Linked DNA regions of Homo sapiens: region 1 is linked to region 2. Evidence: promoter capture Hi-C in 16 types of primary human blood cells and fetal thymus (Javierre and others, 2016). All regions are on one chromosome and are shown on one strand. The core of a region is centred on a gene start or on the middle of the fragment in contact, and the rest is flanking DNA. Distances in the headings are between cores, read along the strand shown. Region 1 holds the start of WWP1 (WW domain containing E3 ubiquitin protein ligase 1). Region 2 holds the start of OSGIN2 (oxidative stress induced growth inhibitor family member 2).

Region 1 (3,050 bases), core at 36-2,535, 3.6 Mb after region 2:
TTCCACATTAACCTACACACACACAGAAAAAAATTTGTTAAACTTATCAAATAGAAAAAGAAGGCAAAATCAAGCCCCTGGAAAATATTTTATTCTGAAAGAGTAAAAATGTCAAAATTATAACAGACACTACTCTTCTTTGGTAATGAAGGTTTCATATATTTACCACAGCAGAGAAAACTCCAAATCGGCAGAGCAAAGAAAGGACTGTGAACAAGACTGATCATTTAAAGGTCGTAAAGGTAAGGAGCAAACTACAAAATTAAATTTTTTTAAAAAAAGAACACGAAGATGAAAGGAGAGTCTGTAAGTCACAGACAAGATAAGGACTGGTAAAATCTGCAAGGTCACTGGAACCTACCAGGTCACAAAAGGTGGAGGTGGGGGTTGCGCTGGGGGGGCGGGGGATGGGGAGCTGCAGAGTCGGTGAAGAACGGAGAGTGATAAAAACATGTCAGAAAAAGACGTTCCAAAGCTGGAGTCCTTGGTTTGCAACGCTGAAATTGGGGTGAAAGTCAGGGAACGGGCAATGAGTCCATGTATTTGTGTTTTCAGGGAGGTGTTAGGGAAAGGTGGAGGAAGGCGAAGAGAAGGCTAAGGAAGCCTAAGAACTGCGGCTGCAGAGTCACGGAAACACTTCGCTCCGCTCCAGGATCACTGGCACAGGCCTTTGCCAGGGCGAACTCCGGGCAAGACCCGTGACCCCACCCCAGAAAACTCCCGACTCCCGGGCTGGAGAAGGTAGCCAAGGTAGGGCGGACCGTCCCCCGACGGGTCCTAGGAGGGTCCAGCCCGGGGGCGGACGGCGCCGGGCGCCCAGCACCGCGGCCAAGGCTCAGGGCCCGTGCCCCCTCCCGCCCTGCCCATTCGCACCCCCAGCCCCGCGCCGCGCCGTCCTTACCCGGCGCGAAGCTGTCGGCTCCCGGCAGCCGGGCGGCCACGGCAGCGGCACCTCCTCCTGCGGCGGGCGCCCTCACCCTTCCGCGCCCAAGATCGCCATCTCGCAGCAGGCGCGGCGGCAGCAGCCACCCAGGCGTCGGCCCCGGCAGCCCAGGCCGCCAGCAGCCACTCGGAACCCGCACGCGGAGCTCGCCGACACCCGACCCTCCCCCCACCCCCACCCCGTCCACGCGCCACCCCCAGCCGACCCCACACCTCCCTTCCTCGGGAGCGCGCCGCGTGGCCGCGTCGCCGGCGCCGCGCCCTAAGCGCGCGCCTCCCCGCCGGCCCCGGCACCGCGCGCTACGCCGCGGCCGCCCAAAGCCTCCAACTCCGGACCCGGAATCCGCCTCCCCCGAGCATGCGCAGCGAGGGCGCTCGGATGCTGCCTTAGGAAAACTCCGCTCCTCCGGGTCTTCCGAGCAGTCTAGCGGAGGGGGACGGACAGCCAATAGTAGGGAGGGGCGGGGCCTGAACGTGTGGAAGGGGCGGGGCCGCCGCTGAGATTTGGGAAGAGGCTGCTCTAAGCTCGCGCTGGGCACTGCTAATTTGACTTTCCGGTCGGCGGCTGATCCCGGAGCAGGACTTCTTAAGGTCCGGGGGCAAAAGTAGGCTGTCCATAAATACTCCTTGACCTAGCTGGGTGACCTCGAACACATTGCAAGAGTAAATAATTGCATTTAGCCATTGGTCATACCCGAAGACTTTCAGTCCATTTTTTATTAATCAAAACGTTCATCTGTGGAAGCCCCACCACCTAGTCCTCACTCACATCAGCCCGGTGATAAAGCAGATACTTATTGACCGAGTATACGTGTCCGCACAATTAACGCACACAACAATCTGACAAAGTAGTGTCTACTGTCTGCATTTTACAGAAAAGTCAACTAGTTTAGAAAAGTACTGTTGGTTATGTGTATTGCTTTTAGAAGAAAGGCCAATGTGCAAATAGAAGTCAGTGGGACCACATTGCTTACCAGGTGACCCGGTTTCTACTTCAGAGAAGCAGAAGCCTTCAGGCATGGATTTCTACAGCTTTTGCCCAACCACCTGACCAACCCCCATAGATTATATCTACGTCCACACCCAGACTTACTAGTTTTCCTTCTATCTCGGAGGCTAGATGTCCCTGCTCCTCTCCACTGCCTGCTCCCCACTGTGGGCGGTCCTTGGCACATCTTTAACTTCACCCTCTCCACTGCCTACAACTCCTCAGCATAATCACGTTTTAAGATTAGGTCCTAAATTTTCCCTTGATTTTAAAACCTCTGGTTCTCTCTCCCCTTCCATTTTAACTGAGCTTTTTGAAAGAACTGTGTACCAAAAACAACCCCAACACTTCATGAGTGTGTACAGAATTCAACAAGTATCTCTTGACTGAACAATGCACATTCCCGCCTACCTCCATGCATTAGTTCTTGTCCTCTGGCTTCATAGTTGAAATTGGTGCACATTATATCCACAAAGATCATTCGAAAATATACATCTGTGTCATTCCACTGCTTAAAATCATTCTTTGGCTTTTCGGAGCTCTCCTGACAAAGATTAACGTGATATTCAAGGTTCCTTTGATGCTCACATGCTCTATCTCTCCTGTTATGAAAAACTCTTCACAGTGCCCCATATGTGCCCACTCATCTCTGCTTTAAACATGTACTAAGATTTTCTTCATCTTTTTGCTTTTGCTGTCTGGTCCCTTTAAATAGATGCAATAATGTGCTTACAAACACGTCCTCAGAAATTCCGTAGGTATTCCCCAGCAGGGATCTGGACTCCTTCTCCAGAATGCATGCAGGCCTCCTCTTCCTGCTCTGTGTCTCACTTTCAGCTCCCCTCATTGCTCAATTTCCTCCCCGTTCAGAAGCTCTTAGTACTCACCTAGTCCTCAAGCTGACACCCAATATTGAACCAGCCTTTTGTTATTGACTGTTTGGTTTCAAATGAACAATATTATAAATAGTATTCCATAACCATTGTTCATGTCCTTATTAACTGTCTTAGATAAATTATTAAAAGTAATAAAAAAGTATGAACAAGTTTAGCCCTTTTGAAACATATTGGCAACTACCTTCCAGAAAGAGCATAGGCTCAGGTATCACATCGCCCAGCAT
Region 2 (3,154 bases), core at 152-2,651:
GCTTCTTAACCTCTTCTCTGAATACTGTTCTTAAATATACACAGGATTTACAAGAAAACTAATTCTATTAAAACAGTCATAAAAAGTAAACGCGATATATATATGTGCTTCTCTGTTGCATTCAATAAATTCAGTGATGTGTTACTATAATTTTGAATAAGTATAAACAGTATTTCTATATTAACTGCAATGTGATATAAACATATTTTATGATCTCTACTGATGACAGTCACAGATACTACTGTGATTTGTTGCTTATATTTTAACTGAATATTAGTTTTTAAAATTTAGTGAAATGATATACCTTTCTTTCCATCCAAGTTCATGGGTTACCTAAATTGTATGAAACCCACTATTTAGGAAGGCTTGATCAAAATTTCATATTTTACCAGGGAAGAAGTCTTACATAGAATTATTCTGGAACATCAGTATATGTAAAGCAAGGTACTAAAGTATTCCCTATGCTTAACCATTCTTCACCCCAGGGTTAAAATCAGTTTCTAGTGTCTGGTCTTTCCACCAATGACTGAGGTGTTGACCAAATGTGCTAGATCTAGAAAACATACTTTTATTTTAGAAATGTATTATATTTTATCACCCCTAAAACCTTTCCCCATAAGGTGATTGTAAAACCGCCTCATTCTTTAAATTTCTACAACACACACGTCTTACCATGGCTAACATCTTAACAAGGCAGAATCTATTTGTGATTAGATGACACTGAAATGTAGTTCCCTACCTTCCTTCCACTCATTACATTATTTAGAAGACTTTTTAAGAAATAATTTTTTTTTAGGGAGGCAGGCACTTCGTAGAACCCCCTTCACTAAAACTTTGCACTACTGGGAAGTCTCAGCTCGCCGTAACCGACTCAGTCCGGCCTAGCCGATCCCGCAGTCCCGTGACCCGCGCGGTCCAGAGCGAGAAAAGGGAACAGCGCAGGGCTCCCCGGAGCAAGGACCCCACCACACCGCACCCCACCCCACCCCCACGCCAGGCAGGACGGCCGAGGCGGGAGGACGCTGCGGTCCAGGCGCTCGCCCTCCACCCCGGTCCCGGCCCGGGCCAGGCCAAAAAGCTCGAGAGCGCGGCATCCCCGCCTGCTCCCCTCCCATCCCCGGCGAGGAAGTCACCTGAAATGACCGGCCAGGGAGCAGCGGCAGCACCACACGGGCATGGAGCGCTGCGCGAGGGGCGCCCGAGCGCGGCCGCCGTGGCCGCCTCCGCCTCCCCCGGCGAGGCTGCCCGCTCGGGGCGCCCGCTGGCTCGGGGTCGCGGGGTCTGCCGGGCGCCCCTGCCTCGCGCCTCGCCGTTGCCGCGGCTGCCCCGGCTCTGTGGCGCCGGAGTCCGCCTCCAGATAGCGGCTTCCGCTCCTCGCCTGCAGGGAGCCAGGCGCCGGAGGCGGGTGATCTCGGGGCGCCGCGATAGGGGCGGAGCGGGGCGGGGACGCTGCGACGGCGGCTGCAGCGGCGCGCGGGCCCCTCCTCGCAGGTGCGGCTGCGGCGGGCGAAGTCTGCGATTGGTGGAGCCACGGCCCGGGCGAGGGGCCGGGCCTGATGGAGCCGAGGCTGCGCGGGCAGGGGACCGAGGTCTGCAGGCAAACTGCGCGGCTCGACCGGCGGCAATCGAGACCTAGACCTCGGTCAGCGCCCCGCCGCCCCTCTGCGTGCGACTTGGTGAGGCCGGTGGGTGCGCGTCGAGAGGGCCGAGGGACGAGCGGAAGAGAAGCTGCTGCGAACTCGGGCCACCCAGATGGCCCGGCGGAGTTCCCTGCGTAAGGCGCGGCCTCGGCCACTTCGCCGAGGACCCCGGGAAGGGTCGAGCTTCCCACGCCTGAGAACCCACCTTTGGGCATTTCCTCGCGCTGCCGGGGTGCAGACGCCGGGAGCTTCCGGGTGCCTCTCCCGCTGACCCCCGCATCACAGTTACCTGGAGGACTCACCAAACCACAGGTGCCCGGGACCCGCCCACCACGCTTCTTTTATGGAAGTCCCGCTTCCGGGAAGAGGTCATCCTCCCCTCTTCATGTCTCTCAAACACCCACAAGTGTAGGAATTACCAGCACGCCGGGTGAAAATCCAGGTGCTCATCAGGCCCGCCCCAGACCACACCGGCCAGTGTGGGGAAGGGCAGGAACCCCTGCTGCTTTTTAAGCCCCTGCGGGCGTTTGTGATGCAATAGGGAGTTAGAAAAGTACTCAATAGTGAGTGTCGTTATTCGGTTTGTCAAAAATTAAAGGTGGGGAGGACAAAAATCAGGAGAGATTGATTGCATCTACTTTTCTACGGAAATGTCTAACTCCGCTTCCAAAAAAAGCCGTAATTATTTTTGTGCTTCAAATATACGTTTATGTTTATATCTTTCAACATAATTTTGTAAAACAAATGTTAAGTTTTACTGAATGTTGTCACTGAACAAACTTGTGATGAGCAGGTATTTTAGAGTCTTGGGGTCTTAAAAGAAAATCATAGGACTCAGACTGCCCCAGAGTTATGCAATCTAAGAGTATATTAACCACTTTTAAGTATTATATGTTTTTCTCTTTTTTGAGCTTTTGTCGATTTGACACGTTCATTTCATTTGAATGTTGGTTCTGAAAATGAAGCATGTAGTTACTTTTCCGTTAACATACATAACAGCATTTTAAAGTACCTAAATTCCTTTTGGAAGGCCGAGGCGGACGGATCACCTGAGGTCAGAAGTTCCAGACCAGCCTGACCAACATGGTGAAACCCGTTTCTACTAAAAATACAAAACCTAGCCCCGGGCGTGGTGGCACGCGCCTGTAATCCCAGCTACTCAAGAGCCTGATGCAGGAGAATCGCTTGAAACCGGGAGGCGGAGGTTGCAGTGAGCTGAGATCGCGCCACTGCACTCAGCCTGGGCCAAAGAGTGAGACTCCGTATCAAAAAATAATAATAAAGTACCTGGCCGGGCGCGGTGGCTCACGCTTGTTATCCCAGCACTTTGGGAGGCCGAGACGGGCAGATCACGAGGTCAGGAGATCGAGACCATGGTGAATGGCGTGAACCCGGGAGGCGGAGCTTGCAGTGAGCTAAGATCGCGCCACTGCACTCCAGCCTGGGCGACAGAGCGAGACTCCGTCTCAAAAATAAATAAATAAAGTACCTACATTCCTAAAAGCAGTGCTTAA

Evidence for each region. The method cuts DNA at HindIII sites, captures the fragments that hold promoters and counts their contacts. A CHiCAGO score of 5 or more calls a contact.
Region 1: the fragment with the promoter of WWP1 here is called in contact with the fragment with the promoter of OSGIN2 in region 2 in 1 of 17 cell types (non-activated CD4 T cells); the score reaches 5.7 in non-activated CD4 T cells.

The regions. Positions count from the first base shown.
Region 1 is chr8:86,340,782-86,343,831 of GRCh38, reverse strand. It overlaps WWP1 (WW domain containing E3 ubiquitin protein ligase 1), which reads right to left and starts at 1,285. Exons shown (of 25, transcript NM_007013.4): 1 at 902-1,285. WWP1-AS1 (WWP1 antisense RNA 1) reads left to right here. Exons shown (of 6, transcript XR_007060994.1): 2 at 172-242; 3 at 556-750. RefSeq lists a silencer at 735-1,194. The HindIII fragment of the contact is 10,725 bases long and covers 1-3,050 here.
Region 2 is chr8:89,900,817-89,903,970 of GRCh38, reverse strand. It overlaps OSGIN2 (oxidative stress induced growth inhibitor family member 2), which reads right to left and starts at 1,401. Exons shown (of 6, transcript NM_001126111.3): 1 at 1,134-1,401. The coding sequence starts at 1,177. It overlaps LOC124901974 (a long non-coding RNA gene), which reads left to right and starts at 1,565. Exons shown (of 2, transcript XR_007061001.1): 1 at 1,565-1,952. It also overlaps the pseudogene RNU6-925P. RefSeq lists silencers at 830-1,279, 1,310-1,649, 1,399-1,697 and enhancers at 1,991-2,756, 2,757-3,154. The HindIII fragment of the contact is 4,461 bases long and covers 1-3,154 here.